Regions from separate parts of the Homo sapiens genome. Here region 1 is linked to region 2. The links are contacts of gene promoters, found by promoter capture Hi-C in blood cells and fetal thymus (Javierre and others, 2016). All regions are on one chromosome and are shown on one strand. Each heading gives the region's core, a stretch centred on a gene start or on the middle of the fragment in contact. The rest is flanking DNA. Distances are from core to core; before and after follow the strand shown. Region 1 holds the start of REPIN1 (replication initiator 1). Region 2 holds the start of ATP6V0E2-AS1 (ATP6V0E2 antisense RNA 1).

Region 1 (2,920 bases), core at 119-2,618, 490 kb before region 2:
TGCCCCATGTTCAGCTCTTCCACAGCTCAGGGGAGCCCAGATTCCTGCACAGGAGCCTCCTCCGCGGAAGGAGGAAGGAAGCAGTTAGGCTCCTAAGGGCCCTTCTGTGCCTGCTCACAAGCTCCAGACACATCCTTCTAAATTCCCTAGAGCGCACTCTCTCTTCTCAGGGAACACAAAGGTCACTCATTCCCAGTGTCAGACTGTGCACAGGGAAGACCCCAGGATATGAGAAAGGGCCATTTCCTTCCGCCGGGATGGGGACGCCCGTGCACCCCTGTTGTGGCGTGGTTTGGGAGCACAGCAAAGGCCAGACTCTACCCTGGAGACTGCAGAGCTGGGGATGAGGCTTTTTCCAGCTCCTCTTGGGGATGTTCCTGGGGATACTTCCGCGGCTGCAGCGCCTGCTTCGGCCCACACTCCGGTAGCCCCCAGGTGTTAGAGAAAACTGCAGTAATAAAGACACCCCTATCCCCATGGCAGAGCTCAGACCTCTGACTGCAGAGAGGCCAGCCTTACCTGTGGGGAGGGAAGAGAAAACAGAAGTGAGGCTCTGAGCTCCTCTAGGGCAGTCAGCTTTGTGTCCTCACCAGCCACAACCCCTCCCCCCACAAAGCCACACGCACCAGCCATAAGCCCCACATCCTGCCTGGCAGAGTGACCTTAATGGACATTGGATTAATAAATGAATGTGCCCCTTCAACAAGGAAGCACACTGCTGTCTTTCGGGGTCACTTTCTTCCCTGGTAAGGTCACGGAACGAATTCTCCATTCTGTGGCCAGAGTCTGGGCTTTCCCTGATGGCCAAAGGCCGGCCTATGGCAGGAACTCTGGAATCCCTGCTGGCTCCCCTTCCCCCAGCCTCCTCCCGACAGGAATTCCAGGCCTATTTCCCATGGGGCTGCGCAGGGCCAGCTGGTGTGACCACGACTCCGTCAGAATCCCCTTCCGCATCGCGGCTGGCCGCGGGTGGCAGAAGCCCCACACCGCCCTTTTGTACTGATGCGTGTCCTCCGTCCACGCTCCCGGGCACACGGGTCCCGTTCTTGCGAGTGAGCCATTTCGGGTCCCACGCACGGCGCAGCTCGCGGAGCCTGTGCGCAGGTGCGCTCCCCCACCCCCGCAGATCCAGCAGCGTCCCCCCCCGCGCACTCACACACGGTCGCGCACACTCACGGTCACGCGCCCCGCAGGTGGAGCGGCCCCCCGCGGGCCCGCGGTGGCCCCGCGCCCCTGCCCCGGCCGTACCTCTGCGGCGGGCTGTGCAGGGACGCGGCGCCCGTCCATGGAGCCCGAAGGCCGGCCTCCGCGGCCCACTCTCGCTCCCCGCCCCGCCGCGGCGACAGCGGCAGGTTCGAGTTCACAACTGCCAGGCCCGTCCCCAACCTCCCCCCGCCGGGTTCCCAGCGCCACGTGACTACAGGAGCTGCCGAGGGTCAGTCGCCGGCTCCCGCGGCCGCGGCCTGGGGGCGGGGAGGGACTGCCGGGGCCGGGGCGCGGGCGCCCCCGCCAAGAGCGGGCCGGGTCACTCAAGCCACTGCCGCGCCAGGGCGGCAGGCCTCGGAGGGTCGGACTCCGTTGCCATGGCGACCACCAGCCCGGGTTTCTCTGGGACTGGCCGGAGCTCAAGTTTCCCGACCCTTTGTCCCTGCGGAGCACGCGCGTCCCCGGGCGACCGCGTGGCTGGCCTATGGTCACCGGGGTGTTCGGCCTTAGCTGCCTTATGAGAGGCTGGGAGCCCGTCGGGAGACTTCAAAGAGGGCTCCGGCAAGCCCCCGGAGCGTCGTTGCCCGGGCCTTTCTCAGGCCGCGCACCCCGGCCGCAGTGCGGACGCTTGCGGCCGCGGCGGTCCCGGGACGGCGGTGGCGCACCTGGAAGGCCCTAGCTTCCGATTTGTTCCAAAGTGGAGCACAAAAAGGCCCGATCCTGCGAACTTTGAAAAGGCCTCTCTTCACTCTTTTCTAGAAATTAAGAAAGAGCAGAAGTTGCTGGGCTTCCTCTGGCTGCGGGCCAAGCGTGGGGCGACGGCCGAGGTGGCCGTTGGCGCACGTGGGGCATTTCGCTTGGAAAGGCTCAGCAGCCTGTGTGGCGTCTGCGGTGGCAGGTGCGAGCCTGTGCCCATGACTCACCCACTAGCAGGTGGCCCTGGCTTTCCAAACTAAACACTTCCTGGGGTTTCCAGGGTAGTACAATTTCATGTACTTTCATGCTTTTCAACACAGGCAATTTTTGAATTGTATAATTAGTCGTAAAAATACTTTTTAAATCTATTGCATAAATAGGAAATAGGGGAACATAAAACTCAGTTTTACCTCGTAGAGTCAATTACATTTAATATTTTGGTATGTTGCCTCCGGTGTTTTCTCTACGTATATCCATGGCATGTCTGGCATAATTGGAATAATGCCTTGCGAAGATGTATTCTGCCTTCTTCACTTAACACGATCTTGTGAATTTTCTTCCATTTTATTAGATATTCTTTTAAACATGATTATTTATGGCTGTATAAAAGGAATATATTTTTTAAATGTTTTCTAAATTATCTTCCAGGAAAACGTATTAGTTTTCCCTGAGAAATGCCCATTTTCCATATACTTGACAACACAGACTTTTTTAAAAAAAAAATTTAGTTTGAAATGGTTATTTCTCATCTTTTGTACTTGCATTTCTTAGAGTACTAGTTAGCTGGATTGTTTTTTCACATGGTTATTTTTTGCCAGTTTTATTTTCTCTTGTGAATTTGTTTATGTCCATTTGCCCACTTTTCTATTTGCCCATTTTAAAAGTTGGGGAGTTGGTTTATTGTTTGGGGGGCACTCATAAAGTACAGGTATTAAAGACTTGTCATGTTTGTTGCAGACGTGTTTCCTCGTACTTGTTAACTTTTTTTTTTTTTTTTTTTGAGACAGGGTTTCACTCT
Region 2 (2,767 bases), core at 42-2,541:
CAGTGAGTTGTTACAAAGAGAACAGGGACTAGCCACTTTGCGTGTACTCAGAGAAGACCAGAGACAGATGCTTCAAGTGCAGCAAAAGAAATTTCAGTCAAACTGAAGCAAGAACTCACCAAGAATAGCAGGAGACGCAAGACACGAAAATGGTTTACAAAGTGAAGCTGTGGGATCCCAAACCCTGCCTGTCTTTAAGAACAAAGGCAGCACTCACATGTCCAAACGGCCTTTGGGCAAAGCTAACTCTAATCCAAACGAGGCCCTTGATCTTTGATCTAAAGCACTGCAAGCTGGTGCTGGACACAGGAGCACGCGATCCCTTTTTCAACATTACTAAGCAGGTTGTGCCAGTCCTGGCTGGGCACTGAGTAGACAATGGTGAACTGGACAAACTCCAGCCCCTGGGAACATGCAGTCAAGGGAAGGGTGCTTTGTAACTGAAGATAATATGAAGCAGAAACTGGTGAATGGCGCAGCAATCTGCTAGAGGACCTTCGAAAAATAACGCCAGCTAAACTTATCCCATACCTACAAAGTGTCACGCACTGGTAGGTGTTTTAAATGCGTTACCGCAGGTCATCCTCACAGCAGCCTTTTAAGGCAGGAGTCGACATTATCTCCATTTTACCCATGAAGAAACTGAGACTTGATATTGGCTCTAGGTCACACAGCTAGCAAGGAGTGGAGAAACTGCGTCAGTGCCCACTTGTGCCCTTTACTGGCTGCAGGAGGGGTGACAGACATCTCCAATGTCACTCTCCTCTTTACCTTCTGGATATGCCCTCTCGCCCCACCTCCTGCCTGTTCCCGGCTGTCAGAGACCCAGGTGCAGAGAGACCTCAGAGGTGGCGTCCGGGGTCCTGGCGTCCCTCCTGCGGACGCTCGCTGCAGAGCAGGAAGCCGCCGCCCCGGGGCGGAGGGGCGAGCCGGGCCAGGGGGCCGGGGTGGAGAGGTCTGCAGGGCCTGCGCGCTTTCCTTACCCGCGGTTGGGTCCCTTCGGCACGAACCAGGGCCCGGCGATGCCGACGAGGCCCCAGAACGTGGTGAAGATGATGACCGGGAGGGCGAATGAGTGCGCCGTCATGGCCGGGCGCAGGATGCCCAGGCAGGATGCAGGGCCGAGCAGCGGGCGCTGCAGGTGCGCGGGTCCCCAGCCGGGCAGCGCGCTGAGCATGCGCAACAGGAGTCGAGCACCCGAAGCGATCAGCCGGGCCGGGCCGCGCACGCGCATCTCCTGATCCAGCCCGCCGCGCTGTCACTCAGGACCTGCCTAGGAGCCCACTCGCTGATTGGCTGAGCAGGGCCGCGGACAGAGAGAAATGCCGAGGAATAGGGGCGCGGCCGCCCGGTTTCGGCGATGGGTTATAGGGTCCGCGTCAGCCCCGCGCCCGCACAGCCAACGTCACGCCGCATTCTTATTTCCAAAGACCCCTGGAGCTTGGGGTCCCACCCCAGCGGTCTTTCGGGGCGTCCCCTGCCCTTCACGCGCCGCGCCGGCTCGGCCCGAAGCGCCCTGCGGACCCGCAGCCTGGGCCGCCCCGAACCTGACGGCCCCGCGGGGGTCGGACGCGGGAGGAACGGCCTCGCTTTCAGAGACGCAGCGGGAGGGCGGTCCCCGCTGTCCCTCTGGCCGGGTCCTCAGCACGCGTTCTCCTCACTCCCAGGACTAGCGAGCGGCGGGCGCGGACCGGGGCCTGGGGTCGGAGGCGGCGCAGCCAGAAAGGCCCCAGCGGCGCTGAGACGTTTGGGGGAAGGCGGGGGCTTCGCGTTTCGATGGCGGGAAGCGGAATGAGGTTGGACCGGCCGGGCCGGCGTTCAGGGACCCGGCGGGAGGCGGAGGGCTGGCGTCCTCGCGGACATCCATCTGCAGCGAACCAGGCAGAGGCTTTGGGATTAGATCCTTGACTCCTTGCGTCAGTAGTTAAGGTTTGTTTAAATATAAAATGGGATGGCCCTTCTTACAAGGTTGCTGGAGGATTAAATGAATAGGCATGTGGAAAGCACCTAGTATAATAAGGCTCGGTAGTTTCTTCCATCAGGGCTGGAAGAGACCACGGAGCCTGCTTTCCTCCTTCGGCGTTTGGATCTCACATATCCCTTCTTCTCTGGCGATCAAAAATCCCTATCTTCTGTAGAGATCCCTTTTACAGATCAGTGGCCTCCAGGCGGTATCTCTAGCAACAAGTGCTACCCCAAGCGGCCGGCCACACATATTCCCTGGCTTCATGACATAGGGAGGCGCAGTCCCCACGTGATGCAGAAGGGAAATGTGCCTGTCCTTGCACTGACCCCGTCAGCCATGTGTGCTCCTGGCTGTTTTCTGAAATCAAGAACCAGTTACATCCGCCCTTCTCCGTTCTCTAGTTGAAACCTCCCTATCCATCCTTCCAACATTCATGTAAGTTGGAGGTGGGCGTGGGATGACACCAAACTGTTAGGTATAAAATACCATCCTAGCCTTCGAGGGGTTTCTAAAGTAGTTGAGGAGTGATATATTCTGGTAAAATCATAATGCTGGACAGCGCAGTTCTAAGAGCCCTGTGATCAAAGTAGCCAAATGCCCATTATGAGAATTCAGAGGGTGGAGAAATCCAGGAAGACTCCCTGGAGGAGGTGAGATTTTAGCTGGATTGTAAACAATGGTTATTTTTCTCATCCAGAGTGTGTACATTGTTGAGAACACTGGCCTAGGATAAGGGTGCACTTGGCATCCAGGAGATAGAGTTAAGAGTATGTCCATACAGGCCTTCAAAAAATCACCACG

Evidence for each region. Contacts are between HindIII fragments. The CHiCAGO score rates a contact against its expected background, and 5 or more counts as called.
Region 1: the fragment with the promoter of REPIN1 here is called in contact with the fragment with the promoter of ATP6V0E2-AS1 in region 2 in 10 of 17 cell types (fetal thymus, endothelial precursors, megakaryocytes and 7 more); the score reaches 15.2 in fetal thymus.

What each region holds. Positions count from the first base shown.
Region 1 is chr7:150,367,270-150,370,189 of GRCh38, reverse strand. It overlaps REPIN1 (replication initiator 1), which reads right to left and starts at 1,368. Exons shown (of 3, transcript NM_001099695.2): 1 at 1,249-1,368; 2 at 322-519. The coding sequence starts at 478. All of the region lies in intron 3 of REPIN1-AS1 (REPIN1 antisense RNA 1), which reads left to right. RefSeq lists enhancers at 1-184, 185-990, 991-1,795, 1,835-1,894 and silencers at 455-604, 1,115-1,584. The HindIII fragment of the contact is 10,402 bases long and covers 1-2,920 here.
Region 2 is chr7:149,872,386-149,875,152 of GRCh38, reverse strand. ATP6V0E2-AS1 (ATP6V0E2 antisense RNA 1) reads left to right here and starts at 1,291. Exons shown (of 4, transcript NR_027040.1): 1 at 1,291-1,929. It overlaps ATP6V0E2 (ATPase H+ transporting V0 subunit e2), which reads right to left and starts at 1,184. Exons shown (of 4, transcript NM_145230.4): 1 at 984-1,184. The coding sequence starts at 1,087. RefSeq lists silencers at 748-927, 1,338-1,417, 1,448-1,657 and enhancers at 948-1,087, 417-1,385. The HindIII fragment of the contact is 7,156 bases long and covers 1-2,767 here.